2 separate regions of the Homo sapiens genome follow, and region 2 is linked to region 1. The links are contacts of gene promoters, found by promoter capture Hi-C in human tissues and cell types (Jung and others, 2019). All regions are on one chromosome and are shown on one strand. Each heading gives the region's core, a stretch centred on a gene start or on the middle of the fragment in contact. The rest is flanking DNA. Distances are from core to core; before and after follow the strand shown.

Region 1 (3,498 bases), core at 957-3,456:
TCAGCATGAAGCAGCGAGACGGATGCGTGGCCTGATTCCTCATGATTGAGGAATTGACGAATGGGGGGGAAGGGTGTTGAAACGGGCCCAATTGTCCCATAGAACTGATGTCTATGGTTTCTTTTAAATAAACATAGAAATTGACCCTTCCATTCTTTAAAACTTGGGAACGTTACATTTGTCTTATCTGAGCTCCTTCCTCAGGAAACCAACCAGCAGTCCTCCTAAATAGTATCAAGGAACAGAGACTCACTAGATCACAGCATCTGGACAGTGAGACCCTAGACCCCTCACCCATCATGCCTGCCTCTGGGACCACCAGCTTCTTGCTGACCAACTCTTTTTTCTTAGCCCTCCTAATTCCTGCTTTCCCACACGTGGTTATATTTCTTCCCTGCTATGAAACCCCCAATTTTAGTCGGTTGAGGACAGGGTTTGAGAACAATCTCCTGCTCTCCCTGGTGCAGCACCCAATTAAAGCCTTCTTCTCTGGCAGTACCTGTCATCTCACTGATTGGCTTTCTGTGCAGTAAGCAGCAGGATCTAGACCGAACCCCTGGCGTTTTGGTGACATGTTCATTTCTGAACCCACTCAAATATTTTAATTTTTAAAAACTTTCTATTTGAAAGATAAATGTGTAAATAATACATTCCTGATCAGCTATGAACAGGTGAATAAACATGTGACACAGTGAAGGATGTCCGTGCCCAGTTTAAAGGTTGTGACCTTAATCAGTTTCAAAGACGGAGTCCAATCAGTAAACCTAAAAAGGTATGAAATTATCCTGAGTCTTAAACCAAAAATTCTGTTTTCTGTGTAATCTTACACTTGGAAGAAAAGTTTAATTTCCAAGCTGAAAGGCTGTGCACTAAGGGGCCTGGACAGTGAGACCCGCCTGCCCTCAAACACTCAATGCCGCCTGAGTGACAACTGGCAAGGCTGGTGCCCAGAGAGAGCCATCAGCTCTCACCCCATCAACACCCTGTGAAGAAGGTAAAGTGCTGAAACGATGGACGAGTGTTTACACAACCGGAGAAGAAAAACAAAATCTACAAATAAATTTCACAGCCAAGTGGACAGAAGCCCATCATGGGTCTGCATAATGGGCCCCCTGTTCTGGGGGCACCCAAAGGTGGCCCTGGTGCCAGTTCGTCACCCATCTGGAATCTTCACAGCCACTGTGGACAGCAGTGGTTTCTTGAGTGTGGATGGGTGGATGCACTGAACGGAAAATTGTGATGGGGTTGGTCTAGATGTTAAATTAGAGAAATGATTGTAGGGTCCTTCAAAATACAAAGAGAAAGAATGACAACAAGGGTTCAGGCAAAGGGATGAAATACAACAGATAACGTCACGTTAAAGTGAACAGGAAACGCCGCAGTGAGCCCACGCTTGCTGTCATACTTCCATCTCGCCCCATCCCCTGTGAACCTAACGAGGCCCTCATGGACTGACGGAGCTGCGAGAGAAGCCTGGCCTCACCCCAGACGCCTCTGAGAGGAGGAGCAGTCATGGGCAGCGACCGATTCCATTCCAGAGCAGTGGAAATTCGGGAAGGAAGCCCTTCCAGCAGCTGTGCTGTGGGAAGGGCTGCAGGAATCTGGGGCCAAGCACGGGGGTACACACTGCCCAGGGGGACAGGTGGGAAAAGGAGAGTTGTTTGAACGAGCTAAGCCCATAAAGCCCTGAGTCCCCAGTGAAACTCAGCAGAAACACTAAACTTTCTTCGAAGAACTAGCAGGCTAATTTATTCCAGAGCAAAATGCCCTGTGAAGCCGCTTGCTCACGGGTGGGTGTGGCCTCAGAGAGGGAAGAAGCCGTCCGCTGGGAAAGGCACTTCTTAAGAAAAAAAATATAAAATCAGATTCCCCTTCGAAGATTTTTTCTCAGCTAAATATTTTGCGGCTGGATCTGTTGAGCTAAAGATAAAACCTCAGCACCAAAACCCTTTGCCTCTCCTGCCTGCGTCCTTGTGATGCTGAGCGTGGGTTGAAAGGAGGCCCGCCTCCTCCTGAATATAAGTCTCCCCTTTCCAAGGGGCCTTCAGGATGCGCTTCCCCTTAGTTTGCTTCAACACTGGGAAAAAAATCACACGGATCGTGAAGTACTCTAAAAACTAGCTCGGTGTCCAAATCCTGTCTGGGGACATGGGTGAAAGAGCGGGCTGTGGGACCCCCCACTGCGGCGCGCCGTCATCACTCACAGCCCAGGTGGTCGCCTGCAAGAGCCCACCCCTCTCTTCCGCGCCTAGGTGGAGCGAGGAGCTTCCCGGCCAGTGCCCGGGAGTCTGCTGCGCTCGTCCCGGCGCCCGCCCGCCGCGGCTCCTACCTGCGGCGGAAAGCAGATGTCGGTCCTCGCCCCGTGCTCCAGCAGCAGCCTCACCCCATCCACGTCCCCGGCCTTCACAGCAAGGAACAGGACCTGCATGGGCACGCAGCACAGGTTGGGGTCCGCGCCCCGGCGCAGCAGCAGCTTGATGGTCCGCCAGCGCTTCCTCCGCCTGAAAAAGACGGTGCGCCCGTGGGCCCCTGGAGGGCAGGCACCTGCACTGCGCCCAGAACGGGGCCATGCCAGCGAGGAGGCTGGGGAGGGGCGCGTAGGGAGTATGTGTGTGCCGCAACTACACAATCACACACACAGCACACACCCACACACGCAGACACACCACACAGCACACAACTACACACAAGCCACACCAGAGCGCACACACACGGCACACACAGCACACCACACAGCACACTCACAACCACACCCACAGCACACCACACAGTACACACAGCACACAACCCCACACACAAGCCACACCAGAGCGCACACACCATAGCACAGCGCACACCACACAGTACGCACACGGCACACCACACACCAGAGCACACAAACCACACTACACATACAGCACACAACCACACAAACCACACACACACCACACACACCACTCACACCACAAAGACACAAACACACAGGCGCACACACACCTCTGAGGGGTCACTGAAAGGCTGGCCAGGTCAGGAGTAAACTGTGCCTCCAGAGAAAACTTGGGCCTCAAGAGAGGCTGGGACCAGGTGGGTGGGGGTTGTGCAGCCGCGCAGGGCTGAGGGAGGAGGGGACTGGGGGTAGGGGGCCCAGATGGCAGCGGGAATGACCATGAGGGCAGGGCAGGTGTAGGATCGAGCCAAGCCCACTGGCCCTGCAGTAGGCACAGAATCGGAGCCGCGGGAACTAGATCGTCCTTGAGCACTTGAGCAGCAGCCTCCAGCCCAGTCTCCAGACCCGTCTCCAGACCCTGACCACTCGGAAGCCCAGGGAGCTGCGTTGACGTGGGTGCTGGCTCTCCTTGTCTGCCGCTACCATGTAAAGCTCAAAAACTGTCAAAACATGTCCAGGATCTATGCCTTTCTGGTGGGTTGTTGGTCTCGCTGACTTCAAGAATGAAGTCGCGGAACTCGCGGTGTTACAGCTTTTTTTTTTTTTTTTTTTTTTTTTTTTGAGACAGTCTC
Region 2 (3,579 bases), core at 192-2,691, 48 kb after region 1:
CCCATCTCAGCTGTCTTCCCTGTCAGCCTTGGATGCGAGGCTGATCCACACCTCTGAGTGACTGTGTAAGCCTAGGGGTTCCTGGTGAGTTTGGGATGGGTGCCCCAAGATCGTGGCCGTGTCCCTAAAGAGGGCACGTGGGGACCTGAGGTCCTACGGGAAAACTGAAATGATGCCTCAGTGCTCTGTCCCGCAAACGTGAACGCACACTCTCCCTCTCAGCCTTCCTTCCCGCCCCACGGAAGGAGGGTAGACACAGAGGGTTACACAACGAGGAGACTGAGTCCAGACACAGGAAACACTACTCAGGGCTGACGCTGAGTCGAGTGCGGTACCCGAGTCCAGCCCTGCACGGCCACACCTCAATGGAGCAGAAGAGAGAGGTGTCCTGGGTTCCTGGATAGTTCCCCAGCCCCAGAAGCCCCTTGTCCCTAGGAATTTGAATTCTTACTTGATGACAACAGCGACATCATGGTGGCCCCTGTTATTCCACAGCCTCAAAATTTAACCGCTGTGAGCTCACTAGCAGCTTCTGCCAGGCGAGCACCCCTTCCCTCGGGGCTCAGGCTCCTGGACAGGCTCAGCCTTGGGCAGCCTTCGCCAGGTCCACAGAGAATGGCGTTGGGAAGGGTGGACCTGGCGGATGGGGTGGGGACAGGCGGGCCAGACCCTCCTTCGTACCCCAGCACAGGGCTCCCAAATGAGAGGTCCCCAGCACTGCCCAGAGGAACTTCTGCGATTGTGGAAATGATTCCTGCCTGCTTTGTCCATTAGCCACTCCTCCCAGGAAGACACACACACTCACTCACTCCACCTGCCACGAAGGAACTGAACTTCTAACTGTATTTAATTCGCATCTAAATGGCCACACGTGGTTGGTGGCTGCTGTAGTTGACAGCGCTGCGTGAAGGCTCCGGCGCTTCTCGCACCGCAGGGCCCACAGCACAGACCACACCTGTAGACTTGGAGGAGTGGCAGGGGTGCCAGGAGAATCCTGCCCTGCCCGTAGCCCCGGATGAAAGGATGACATTGAGTTCGCGACGCTGCGCTCCTCGGGAACACGAACCACACCTGGAAGCAGCCTGCCCCTGTGGCCCCAAGGTTCCCGGGTCCCTTCAGCGGCTGCCCCAGGGGCCTGGCCGGCAGTGTCTGGGAGGGAGCAGCGATCCCGCCTCCTGGGATCTCCCGGGCGCCGCCCGGGGAGGAAGCGAGGGGCTGGGGGTGCTGCTCACCCGCTCCGCGCGCCTCGGCTCCCAACACAGCGCCCCGGCCCCGCGCCGCGCTCGATTCCCCGGCTCCCCGCGCCCCTGGCTCCTGGCCCTCCCCGCCCGGCGCCCCGGCCCCGCGCCCCGGCCCCGCGCACAGCGCCCCCGGCGGCGGCCGAGCGGAGCCCGAGCGGGGCGGCGCACGGCGCGGGGCCGGGCCGGGCGGCTCCCGGCGCGACTTCCTGTTGTGCCCGCGCCCCGCCGCCGCCGCCGCCCGGCGCCCCTCGCCCGCGGCCCGGCGCGGCCGCCGCCCATGGATTTCACCTAGTGCCGGCGGCCATGGCCGCGCAGTGCTGCTGCCGCCAGGCGCCCGGCGCCGAGGCCGCGCCCGTCCGCCCGCCGCCCGAGCCGCCGCCCGCCCTGGACGTGGCCTCGGCCTCCAGCGCGCAGCTCTTCCGCCTCCGCCACCTGCAGCTGGGCCTGGAGCTGCGGCCCGAGGCGCGCGAGTTGGCCGGCTGCCTGGTGCTCGAGCTGTGCGCGCTGCGGCCCGCGCCCCGCGCGCTCGTGCTCGACGCGCACCCGGCTCTGCGCCTGCACTCAGCCGCCTTCCGTCGCGCCCCCGCCGCCGCCGCCGAGACGCCCTGCGCCTTCGCCTTCTCCGCCCCCGGGCCGGGGCCCGCGCCGCCGCCCCCGCTGCCCGCCTTCCCCGAGGCGCCCGGCTCCGAGCCCGCCTGCTGTCCGCTGGCCTTCAGGGTGGACCCGTTCACCGACTACGGCTCCTCGCTCACCGTCACGCTGCCGCCCGAGCTGCAGGCGCACCAGCCCTTCCAGGTCATCCTGCGGTACACCTCGACCGACGCCCCCGCCGTGAGTCCGGGGCGGGCGCCGGGGCTGCGGGCCGGTCCGCAGGGCGCTGCTAGCGGCCTCTCGCCGCACGGCCAGGCTGAGGGACGCGAATCTGCGCCCTACAGGTGCCCCCCTCCCCCCACCCCGGTGATTCCCAGCTGTTGCCTGTGAGCCCTTAGGACCCTCGGATAGAAGCCGGAGTCCTGCGGGGACACGGGACAGCATGTCACTCCGGGAAGCCTCCCGTTCAGGTGTCTGGTCCCTGCCTGGGGACATGAGCAGCTTCTGTCACCCACCGAGGTGTACATCTGCAGGATCCTGGCACCAAGGGTTGGGCTGGAGTGTCAGCTGCGGAAGGGCCTCCATGTGACCAGTGCGTGCAGATGAGTCCAAGCCAGAGGCAGAGGAAAGGGCCATGGAGATTGTGATGCTCGGTTTGGGGCTTCCTTGGCCAGCACTGGTGGAGTGTTGAGACCAGTGGGCCCCGCGACCCCAACATAGACACACATAGGCTCTGCAGGGCTTGCACACTGGGTACCCACCACTCCAGAGACTCTGCAAGAAAGGCCAGGTGGCTGAGGCTGGCGCTGTGGCTGCAGCACCCCCTCCACCTCCACCAGTGGGGATGTGTACAGGATGGAGCAGGGCCTTTCCTGCCTACAGCATGGGGGTTCATACTGCATCCCTAGGTGGTATGGACGGCACACATGTGACACCCGACATATGCAAGACACACACAGCTGTGGAGGCGCTGGGAAGTCCAGCTGTCACTGGTCACGGCACATAAATGGACAGGGTGGTGGAGAGGTGGTCGAGAGGCTTCAGGCCACAAAGAGCCAAGGTGACATCTGGGCAGGAAGAACCCAGACCAGTGCACCCCTATGGGCTTCCTGTACATTTCCCAGGAGCCCTAAGCAGGACCTGCCACCTCACCTTTTTCCCAGAACCCCTGTGGGTGTGCAGGCCGCTGGCTAGCCGGCCCCGCCCCTGCTGTGGTATTCCAGGGCTCTGACCGGTGGCAAGTATGCCTCCCAGTATGACAGGTGAGAACTGAGGGATGGGCTTCTCCTTGGCCTTGATCCGTGTTTGGAGCCCACGTGTCTGGTCCGCCCAACACTGGCCTGCAGAGTGGCCGGACCAGGGCCCTCAGCAGGCTGCTGTGAACGGGGCCCAGTGAGCAAGGGTGGCCATTGTCTCTTGGCTTCCTATGGCCTACTGGGTGGCCCTTGGGTACTCTGGGCAGGGAGAGTGGCATAGTCCCCCAAGTCTGCGTGGTGTCAGGGTTGGCAGGCTGTGGACAGGGGGCCTAGCGTCACCTGGCCTGTGAGCCGCCCTACTTGCAGAAGGCAGAGTATTCGACTCTAACCTCAGGCATGCACCTTTGTATGTGAGCGCCATGGGGCTGGGGCCACACGTAGAGTCCCCTTCTCTTCCTGCATGTTCCAGGGACTCAGGCCCAAATCCCTAAGCCTGTCCCTGTGCCAGGGAGGATGCAGCGGAAGCTCCCTGGGAGGCCCTGCCAGTGGGC

What was found. Contacts are between HindIII fragments. The study calls those that stand out against the background at their distance.
Region 2: a contact is called between the fragment with the promoter of RNPEPL1 here and a fragment that was not itself captured in region 1, in 2 of the 25 tissues and cell types used here (H1 embryonic stem cells and liver).

Annotation. Positions count from the first base shown.
Region 1 is chr2:240,518,033-240,521,530 of GRCh38, forward strand. ANKMY1 (ankyrin repeat and MYND domain containing 1) reads right to left here. Exons shown (of 18, transcript NM_001282771.3): 9 at 2,330-2,501. Among named protein-coding and RNA genes, the nearest start is that of ANKMY1, 38 kb to the right of the region's middle. The HindIII fragment of the contact is 6,500 bases long and covers 1-3,498 here.
Region 2 is chr2:240,567,043-240,570,621 of GRCh38, forward strand. It overlaps RNPEPL1 (arginyl aminopeptidase like 1), which reads left to right and starts at 1,442. Exons shown (of 11, transcript NM_018226.6): 1 at 1,442-2,072. The coding sequence starts at 1,545. RefSeq lists silencers at 1,159-1,418, 1,449-1,508, 1,649-1,838, 2,079-2,128 and enhancers at 1,889-2,527, 2,399-2,578, 2,528-3,166. The HindIII fragment of the contact is 6,553 bases long and covers 1-3,370 here.